Regions from separate parts of the Homo sapiens genome. Here regions 2 and 3 are each linked to region 1. The links are contacts of gene promoters, found by promoter capture Hi-C in blood cells and fetal thymus (Javierre and others, 2016). All regions are on one chromosome and are shown on one strand. Each heading gives the region's core, a stretch centred on a gene start or on the middle of the fragment in contact. The rest is flanking DNA. Distances are from core to core; before and after follow the strand shown.

Region 1 (2,968 bases), core at 166-2,665:
TGCAGGACCAGCAACAGGTTAGAAATCCAATCCAGAAAACAGAATGATCGTTGATCCTCCCTCACCACCCCTCCCCAACCCAATAAATCACCAAGTCTTGACTATTTCACATCCTAATATTTACAGAATCTTTTCTCTTTTCTCAGTTCCCACAGCCACTCCCTTAGGTCAGTCCACCATCATCTCTCACCAAGACTACCACAACAATCTCCTTACAGGTCTTTCTGATCCTTAACTGTCCTTCTTAGCAGAATATATAGCACTCTCCATGATCTCGTCTTTGTTTCTGTTTTCATTCTCACCACTTGCCATTCTGCCTTGAGTTTTTGCTCCAGCAACACTACGCTGCACACATCATGCTGTTTCTCACCTCAGTGCTTTTGCTGCTGGACCCCAAGTAAGGAATGCTTTAACCTACCCTCAATGCACATCTTGACCTGCCTAATTCATCTCCAGGAAGTCTTCCGTTCCCTGTTCCCCAGCTAAATGAAGGACTTCCCTCAATTTCTATTATATCCCATACACATCCCTCAACACTACATTTAGTACAGTGCTTTATGATCACTAAGCCTTTATCTTCCTCACTACTTCGGGAGCTCCTTAAGGCCAAAATCTCTTTTTTTTTTTTGAGACAGAGGCTCGCTCTGTCGCCCAGGCTGGAGTGCAGTGGCGCGATCTCGGTTCATTGCAACCTCTGCCTCCCGAGTTCAAGCGATTCTCCTGCCTCAGCCTCCCGAGTAGCTGGGATTACGGGCGCGCACCACCACCACGCCTGGCGAATTTTTGTATTTTTAGTAGAGACGGGGTTTCGCCATGTTGGCCAAGCTGGTCTCGAACTCCTGACCTCGTGATCCATCCTCCCTCGGCCTCCCAAAGTGCTGGGATTATAGGCGTGAGCCACCGCGCCCAGCCTTCTGTCTTATTTGTGTATCCTCAGCGCTTAGCACTCTGCCTGACACATTTCTGTTCAATGGATGAATGATTCCTTCCCCGATGGTGGGCATGTCATTCTGTAAGCATTAAAGTGAACTTTAAGGACCATAACCAATGTGTACTTCCTATTGCTGGCTTTTGATAAGACCCAATTTTAGAGCTCTAATAACCCCTTGAAATAGCAGCCCTAAGTCATCGCCTCCGAGGAACTATCCCCATCAGATTCCATTACCCACTAGGACGGTCCCTGAACCGTAGCCCAATGTATTCCTACAGATGTAATCGATGGCAGCACTGTGGGGCCACTGGCTACCTGCTGCGTCCGTCCCGGACTCCGGAGATGGACTGTCTGTTCCCTCCCTTCGCTCCTCACCCGCCCCCATTCTCCTTGATCGCTCTGGCCGCTCTACCTTTCCCCGCTTTTCCAGAACCACTTTTTCCTTTGGGCGGCATCTTGGAAGCTTGTTGTTGAACGCTGAACCGCTCCAGTTGCCGTACAAGCCCCTTTAGAAGCCCCGCCATGGGCATGTCCTAAACAAATGCCTGAAAGCCGCATCTCAATTGACCGTTCTTATTGCGGCTCCGGAAGCAGGCACAGCTTGGGGCAGACCCCGTCCTTTGGCTCTTGGACCAATGGGGCTGAAGATGTCTGACCAATAAGACGCTTGGGCCGAAACAAAGGCAGAGGGGCGGAGACAAAGGCCGGATTAGGGCGGGAAGCCTGGCCTCTGCGCTTTTTGTGACTTCTTTCACGCACCCTAATTTGCACCAGATCCCCCACTCCCCACACTCTACGCCCGAAGCTCCCCCGTTCCCCTCAACCTGGCTTTTTTCACGCGTGCGCAGTAGGAGCCACGGGGGTGGGTGGCTCTGCAGTCCCTCGGCGCCAGCTCTGGCCAATCCCGCGGGGCCGCCAGACAAAGGGAAGCAGGAGTACTGTGGTGGCGGCCAACTTCCGCTGTCTCCTCCTACACACAGGGCTGCCCTCCCTGGCAGTTTTTCGTTTGTTAATTTTATTCTGCAGTTGTAGCTAATTAGGTTCAAAAGGTAGTTTTTAAAAAAGCCTGTCACCTTTTTGCGTCTTGCAGAGCTCAGTCATGGAGAAACATTGGAAGCAGTCTGAGTGCTCCTCAGTCGGGTACTGCTTAAATAATGTTTTAGCCACACAAGAAGATATTATACAACATTCAAAATAACGATTGTAAGGCTGTGTGTACAGATAGGGGAAATGTTTTTAAGACCAAGATAAAGAATATGATTCCTTGTAAAAGAAGTATATGTAATGTATTGTATGTTATATGAATATAAAGGAGAGGAAAGCTATAGAGCAAGATGTGGCCAGTGGTGCTAGTGCATACAGGTCATCGTGTTTGTTTCTGTGTATTTTCCAAAATTTCCATAATGGTGCAGCATAGTGTAGTAAAAGCATGGATTCTGGAGCCAGATTGCCCAGTTTCAAATCCCTGCTCCACATCTGTCTACTAGCTCCATGACCTTGAGGAAGTTACTTCACCTCTCTTTGGCTCAGTTTCATCATCTGTGAAATGGAGTTGATGATAATAGTACCTACTATTATCCTATCAGGTGTTAAGAGAATTAAACAAGTTCATATCTGTAAAGCACATAAAATGATGGCTTGCTCATATTAATAATGTTTGCCTAAGATAAATGATTTTTGAATTTGTGCCCACACACTTTTTCTCCCCTTACAATCCCTCCCACCATCAATAATTTGTATATGATATGTCAGGGCGTTTCCTCCAGTCCATGAGAGAGCTGTCCTAGCTTGCCACTACCAGCCAGAATATAGAGGTCTTCCAGCTCAGAGTTTAGTTTTTGGATGCAGCCTTGCTGGACCTGGAGATGCTTCATGCTCATACCAGGGAATCAGGTGTTTCTGAGACTGTGCTCATTCCCTACTCAAGACATAACATGGAGCCCTCTTATGTTTGGCTGCTTTAAATTCTGGACACATTTTGGGCACTCCTTGTTTTCGGATTGGGAGTGATCAACTGCGGAGGACACATCTAGTGGT
Region 2 (2,968 bases), core at 123-2,622, 2.4 Mb before region 1:
CAGGGAAGGCTTCTCTAGGAAGTTAATAATTGCGAGGCTTGGATGATGAAAGCAAAGATATGAAAGTAAAATATTCCAGCAAAGGTAAAGTAGTTGAAGTAGGAAGAAGTTAGCTTTGTTGGAAAAACCGTAACAAAGCCAGCATAGCTGGCATGCTATTGGAAAACAGAAAAATTGGGAAAAGGAAAAGAATCTAAAAACTTGGGTAAGGTTTTCCTTTAACTGTGACAATGGGAGTGGCATGCTGTGTGGCGAGTTCCCTCAATTCTTTCAGGCATTACTACCTAAGAAAGGCCTTCTTTAACTGCCCTTTTACAAATCCCAACGTTATCAGATTTTCCCACCCTTTTACAATCACCGCCCTTTTTCGAATACTTTAGAGTTAATGCCTCAAAGTTATCAGTCTTTTAAACATCACGAATCCGTTTGTCCCTACAAGGAACTCTTCTGTCCCCCTTCCTTGATTTTTCTCCTTGGCATTTATCACTAACATGATATGTATTTATGTTTGATTTTTTCTAAATTATTGTCCCTGGCCCCTATAAAGACTCAAGAGAACTGGGATTTTGATCTGTTTTCTTTTTTTTTTTTTTTTTTTTTTTGAGACACAGCCTTGCTCTGTCACCCAGGCTAGAGTGCAGTGGCGAGATCCCGGCTCACTGCAATCTTCGCCTCCTGGGTTCAGCTATTCTCCTGCCTCAGCCTCCCGATTAGCAGAGATTACAGGCGCCCGCCACCACGCCCGGCTAATTTTCGTATTTTTAGTAGAGACTGGGTTTCACCATGTTGGCCAGGCTGGTCTCGAACTCCTGACCTCAGGTGATCCGCCCGCTTCGGCTTCCCAAAGTGCTGGGATTACAGGCGTGAGCCACCGAACGTGGCCTGTTTTCTTTCTTAATTTTGGTCTATTTTAATTTCCTAAGCAGCTACAATGGTGCTTGACATGCAGTTGGCACTGTGTAAATACATGTTGAATAAAACGCAGGCTACTTTTTGAACTGGTCTGCACGGATTGTGTGAACTGATGTGATGTCAGGGTAGACTAATATCACATTTCTCTCTCTCTGAAAATGTCTTCAAGCAGTCAGACCGTGACGTCCTTCAGTTTTCAAAATGGGAAAGCGAAGGTTCCCACAATTCTCAGAACGCAAATTTCTCGCCACAATTCAAAATGGCGGAGGAGGGTGGGGCCTGTCACATGGTGGGCGTCATAACAGCTTTCCTTTTCCAAACCGCCGCCCGCCTTGCCGCGTCGTCTGCCGTCCCCCTCCTCCTCCCGCGGAGCCTTTTCGAGGAATCGACTGGGATTGGCTAATAGGCTGGGAGTGGGGCTGCGGTGCCGGGACGCGGCATCATCACTTCCTGTTGTGGGCAGTCGTTTCCTGTCGCTGCTTGGTAACAATGGGGAAGATAATGGCTGCCTGAGCAACGTCTCCGAGCAGGCGCTGGGCTAGAGGCGGGTCTCAACCAGCTACTCATTGGAGGCGGGCTTGAGAGCGGCGGCCAGGGAGGTGCGGAGCAGCCTCGGCGGCGGCGGCCGAACCAACCGAGTCGGATCCTGACCCTAAAACCTAGTAAGTGAAGACTTGGGAATCCTGTGAGAAATGATGTAGAGCGAGAGGAAGACAGCGGAGCCGCGGCTGCCGCGTTCTCTCAAAATGGCCCGAGTGACGCGTCGTGGCAGAGGCTCAGCGCCGCCTCCGGACCCCAGGCCCGTTGCTGCGGGGGGCTCCGTGGCGTAGTCGCCGCTGCCATTTTAGTTGAGTGGTATAGTCGACAGGCTCTTTGAAGGGGAAGGAGGTGGGTAGTACTTCCTCTCGGTGGCCGCGCGAGCTGCAGCCCAGGCCCTCCGGAGCCTTAGGAAATCGGGGGAGGCAGTTTTTGAGTTTTGGCCTCAGGCGTCAGAATCTTAGAACGTCTCAGGCTTTTTCTTCTCTGTTCTCTGGAGGCTTCCCTGACCTCCCCGCGTTTTCCATGGCGGGCTTGGGTTTGGGAAAAGGGAAGTAAAAAATCAGGCTGCCCCAAGTGAGATGCTGGCAACTCTTGGGCCTTTAGATTTCCAAAACCTCATTTTGAGCCCTTCTGCAGGGTATTACCAATTAGGCGCCCCCTGGGGCCGCGATGACATCTTCCCTGAGGATCTGAGGCAAATGTGGTTTACTCCCTTGCTCGAATAACCCTGGCATATCCTTTGCCAGGTATCACTGGAAGGATCCCCCCGCAAAAGAGAGGGAAAAGCCGTTAGGTGTTTGTTGTGTTCTCCTGGATAAGGGATGGAATTGGGCCAAATTTTCAAGTTAATTTGTGTTTAATCCACCAACAACTCAATCCCTCCCCCATTAAAAAAAAAAAAAAAAGCCTAGGGGGGTCTCTGCTTCTGCAGACGGTACCTGCCACGCATGCCATAGCTTAGTAACTAGTATTAACCGGTTGGGCTTCTGCTTCCTGAATACTCGGTCCCTTTTTCCCTTATGCTGATTAATTTCAAGATGGAGGAGACAGCCACGTTCCTTCCCTAGACAGTTTCACCATACTTATTCCACAGGTTAGTCTGGGAATCTGAGGCCTAGCAGTCTTGTTATTGAGGTCATTTTTTTTTTCATTTTGGGGCAAGAGGAAGCAGTTGTATCAGATTGTCATCTTCCATTTGCAAGACCCCACAATGATTTTTTGCCAGAAGTAAGGAGCCCGCATTTCCTGAATCAGAATTAACCGCAGTGTTTTGGACTGATTGAAAGGGGGAAGAAATAATAAACCTACTGCTACTAATCATTTCTTTCATTCTTCGTGATTATAGACAGAGTAACTACTTATCACCCCATTAAGTACATTGTATCTTCCCTGGAGGACTGGCACAATTATAACCCCTCCCCCCCCATGACTTTTCTAAACTGTAGAAATATAGCTTAGGTAGCTAGAAAGACCAATCCACTTTTTAAAACTTGATTTTAGGACACACTCCACTTAC
Region 3 (2,968 bases), core at 175-2,674, 2.0 Mb after region 1:
GCCCCTGAAAAGCACCGCCATTGGGCAGGCCTCATATTATAGCTATTGACCCACCTCTGTATTTTAGCCTGTCTTTGAGATGCCATAGCAACGAGACTAGGATAAGCCATGGAGGAATTGGCAGTGTGATTTTCAGCAGAGTTGTTCATGGTTTTGGGCAGCTCAAACTCTGCCACATGATAGCAATGGCACTGAGTTAAGTAGTTTATAAAGTGTTCTCGAGCCCGCTGCAAATGATCTAGACGCTTGCTGGGGTTGACTTGTTTCATGGTGAGGGCTCCTTGAAACGCTGGCACCAAAAGGTACTTCAGGTCGGTGGAAGCAATCTCTTCCAAATCTTCATTTCGGCTGGAAGAGCAAAAAGGAGGCAGTGAAGCCTGACTAGGCATTCAAATTGTGGCCCTTGCTTTCTGGGGGACGGAGTGGGAGGCTGGGCTGGGAGTGGACCAGAGGGAGGAGGCACGGGGAACAGCGGCCAGTTTCACTCAATGAAAGTGGCTGAGGGCTCACACCCAATGCCTATGCAATCAGCAGACGCTAGGAAGCAGAGTCGTAAGATATCAACCATCTGGGAAGAGAGGTGGGGAATGTAAACAATGTACACAAGATCGCAGTGGTAAGTAGGAACGAAACGTTCTCACCACTAAAGGTCCCCTCCACTCAGGCGCAATGGCTCCACCCTTGGTAACCATTATTACCTTCGTTCTCAGCCATTATTACTATCTTCCCCCATACCTGAACAAGTCGAGCTGCGATAACATTTCGGCAGCCTTCTCAAGGAGGTCCAAGCCCTTGAACACCTTCTCCTGGACTATCCGGGAACCGGCGGGTTCAGTCGCCACTTCTACTTCGTCCAGTAACTGTCTACCAGTTTCGAACAGCTCGGGGAGCCGCGGCAGCTGTAACTCGTCCTCAGCAGCCATCTTGGGGAGAGAGGAACCCGGAAGATCTCTTTTCCGGGGTCAAAGGCAACCTTGATAAAGAAGAATTAGGCGAGCGCGGACAAAACCGGAAGAAGCACCTCATTGGTCCAGTAGCTTCACTGTTAACAAAGCATCAAAGGACTTCCGGGAGCCGCTGTTAGCCGGCCCTGGCAACCGTTTCCATAGACTCATTTTACCAGGCAGCCCGTTACAAGTCGTAGGCATCTGTTAAAAGCAAACAAACAAGCAAAACCCTAGGCGCTGTTTTACCATGAGCTCCTCGTCGCCGACACGGGGCTGAGAAGTTCTGTGGGCTCTGAAGCCCGGGTGAGGCGAGGCTGAATTCGGAGCGCGAGGAGTGCGGACGAGCGAGTGCGTTTTAGGAGCCAGTCTGGCGCGCCCCTTACCTCGCGAGTAGCTCCCTAGGTTGAGGAGTCCAGGGACTCTAGCCGCCGCACCACTCCCACGGTTTGAAGATCCGGTCGCTTGAGCGCGAAGTGCAAGTAGCGCCCCCCTGCGGTTTCCGTCCACCCACCAGATGGAGCTCCGGGTTCCTCCCAGCCAATCCTCTCCCGTCCTCTTCCCCCTTCACCCCACACACGCCTACGACCCGTAGGCCGGCGTCCGGTGGAGCCCCCCTCAGCAAGATTGGCAACCTGCAACTCCGGTCACCGCACAGCCGGCTTCCCTTCGTGCACTTAGTTCCTACATCAAATGTTATTTCTGTGCAACCTTCCTTGTCTCTCTACCGCCTTCCACCCTGTGCCCTTCAGCCGCCAAGTCTGGGTTTCTCCTATGCATCTCTATCATGGCACCTACCACGCTGTATAATTGCTAGTGACTTACAAATCTCTCTTATCAGAATGAATTTGACTCATCTTTGCACCACTCTGGCTAGCCTGAGTACTCAGTATCAGTCATTATCTGAATAAAAAAAAAAAGTGATCAGTTTGGAAAGCAGCCAACTTATGCAGAACAGCATTGTTCAGTAGGTAGTTACTAGCTACATGTGGTTACTAAGCACTTGAAAGTGGCTATTTTGAATCGAGATGTGCTGCAAGTGTAAAAAACACCCCAGATTTCAAAGACATTTAAAAAAAAAAGAATGAAAAATGTAAATACTTTTTACATGGACTACATGTTGAAATGATAGTCTTTTGGATATGTTGGATTAAATATATTATTAGAATTAATTGTACTTCTTTCTTTTCACTTTGTAAATGTGCCTGCCAGATAATTTAAAACTATATTTGTAGCTCCCATTATATTTCTACTGGACAGAACTGATGGAAAACATAATTTCAGGACTTCAAAGAAGGGACGTCATTGTTTTGAACAAAGCAATATAAATACATACTGATTACCTTAGGACGCAGCCTGAATTGTCCTAGGAGATTTAAGTAGCAGGCACACTGTCTACCCCTGAAAATAAACTTTTAAACTAGTATTTTAAACTACATATCGTTGAGAAGAAAAAAAGCTTCATTAAAAAACAACTAGAGGGCAATATAGGACAGTATAAAATAGGTGATATGTTGTATTGCACAGGCTGTTGGAAAAGCAAGAAAGGGCAAGTCATCCCATGCTAGGAGTAGTTCAGAAGGCTTCTTAGACATGACATGCGGTCACATAGAAGAATGTCAAAGTTTAAAGGGAACCCCCAAAATCGGAGGAAAAACTTGAGACCAGAAAGGTTAAGGGACTTGTCCAGCCAGTTTGTGACAAAGTCAGTGACTTCTGCGTTCAATTGTTTCTACTCCATTAACCTTCAGTTGGGTAGGATTTAGAAAGATGAAGACCTTTAATGTGGGACAGATTGAAGCCCCAAACTAGAACAGTGCTTCCTAAGAGGGAGAGGAGGCTGTGGCACACATGTAGGTTGAAAAAGCTTCCCAGGTGATTCTAATAAACCTTCCCTTGCAACCCCTGCTTTATAAACTAAGAAGGAAGTGAGGCTTTGGCGAATTACCTATTTGGTTTATCTGGCACCTCTAGTAAACTGACCTTTCAGGGTCAGGCTTGGCAGGGAATATAAAGAAAAAGAT

What was found. The method cuts DNA at HindIII sites, captures the fragments that hold promoters and counts their contacts. A CHiCAGO score of 5 or more calls a contact.
Region 2: the fragment with the promoter of RLIM here is called in contact with the fragment with the promoter of PIN4 in region 1 in 1 of 17 cell types (total B cells); the score reaches 8.4 in total B cells.
Region 3: the fragment with the promoter of IGBP1 here is called in contact with the fragment with the promoter of PIN4 in region 1 in 1 of 17 cell types (total B cells); the score reaches 6.1 in total B cells.

The regions. Positions count from the first base shown.
Region 1 is chrX:72,180,204-72,183,171 of GRCh38, reverse strand. It overlaps PIN4 (peptidylprolyl cis/trans isomerase, NIMA-interacting 4), which reads right to left and starts at 1,415. Exons shown (of 4, transcript NM_006223.4): 1 at 1,344-1,415. The coding sequence starts at 1,386. RefSeq lists an enhancer at 1,156-1,375. The HindIII fragment of the contact is 4,711 bases long and covers 1,397-2,968 here.
Region 2 is chrX:74,613,028-74,615,995 of GRCh38, reverse strand. It overlaps RLIM (ring finger protein, LIM domain interacting), which reads left to right and starts at 1,372. Exons shown (of 4, transcript NM_016120.4): 1 at 1,372-1,574. RefSeq lists an enhancer at 1,448-1,767. The HindIII fragment of the contact is 9,843 bases long and covers 1-2,968 here.
Region 3 is chrX:70,131,903-70,134,870 of GRCh38, reverse strand. IGBP1 (immunoglobulin binding protein 1) reads right to left here and starts at 1,424. Exons shown (of 7, transcript NM_001551.3): 1 at 1,331-1,424; 2 at 736-1,148; 3 at 55-348. The coding sequence starts at 923. RefSeq lists an enhancer at 546-1,005. The HindIII fragment of the contact is 12,060 bases long and covers 1-2,405 here.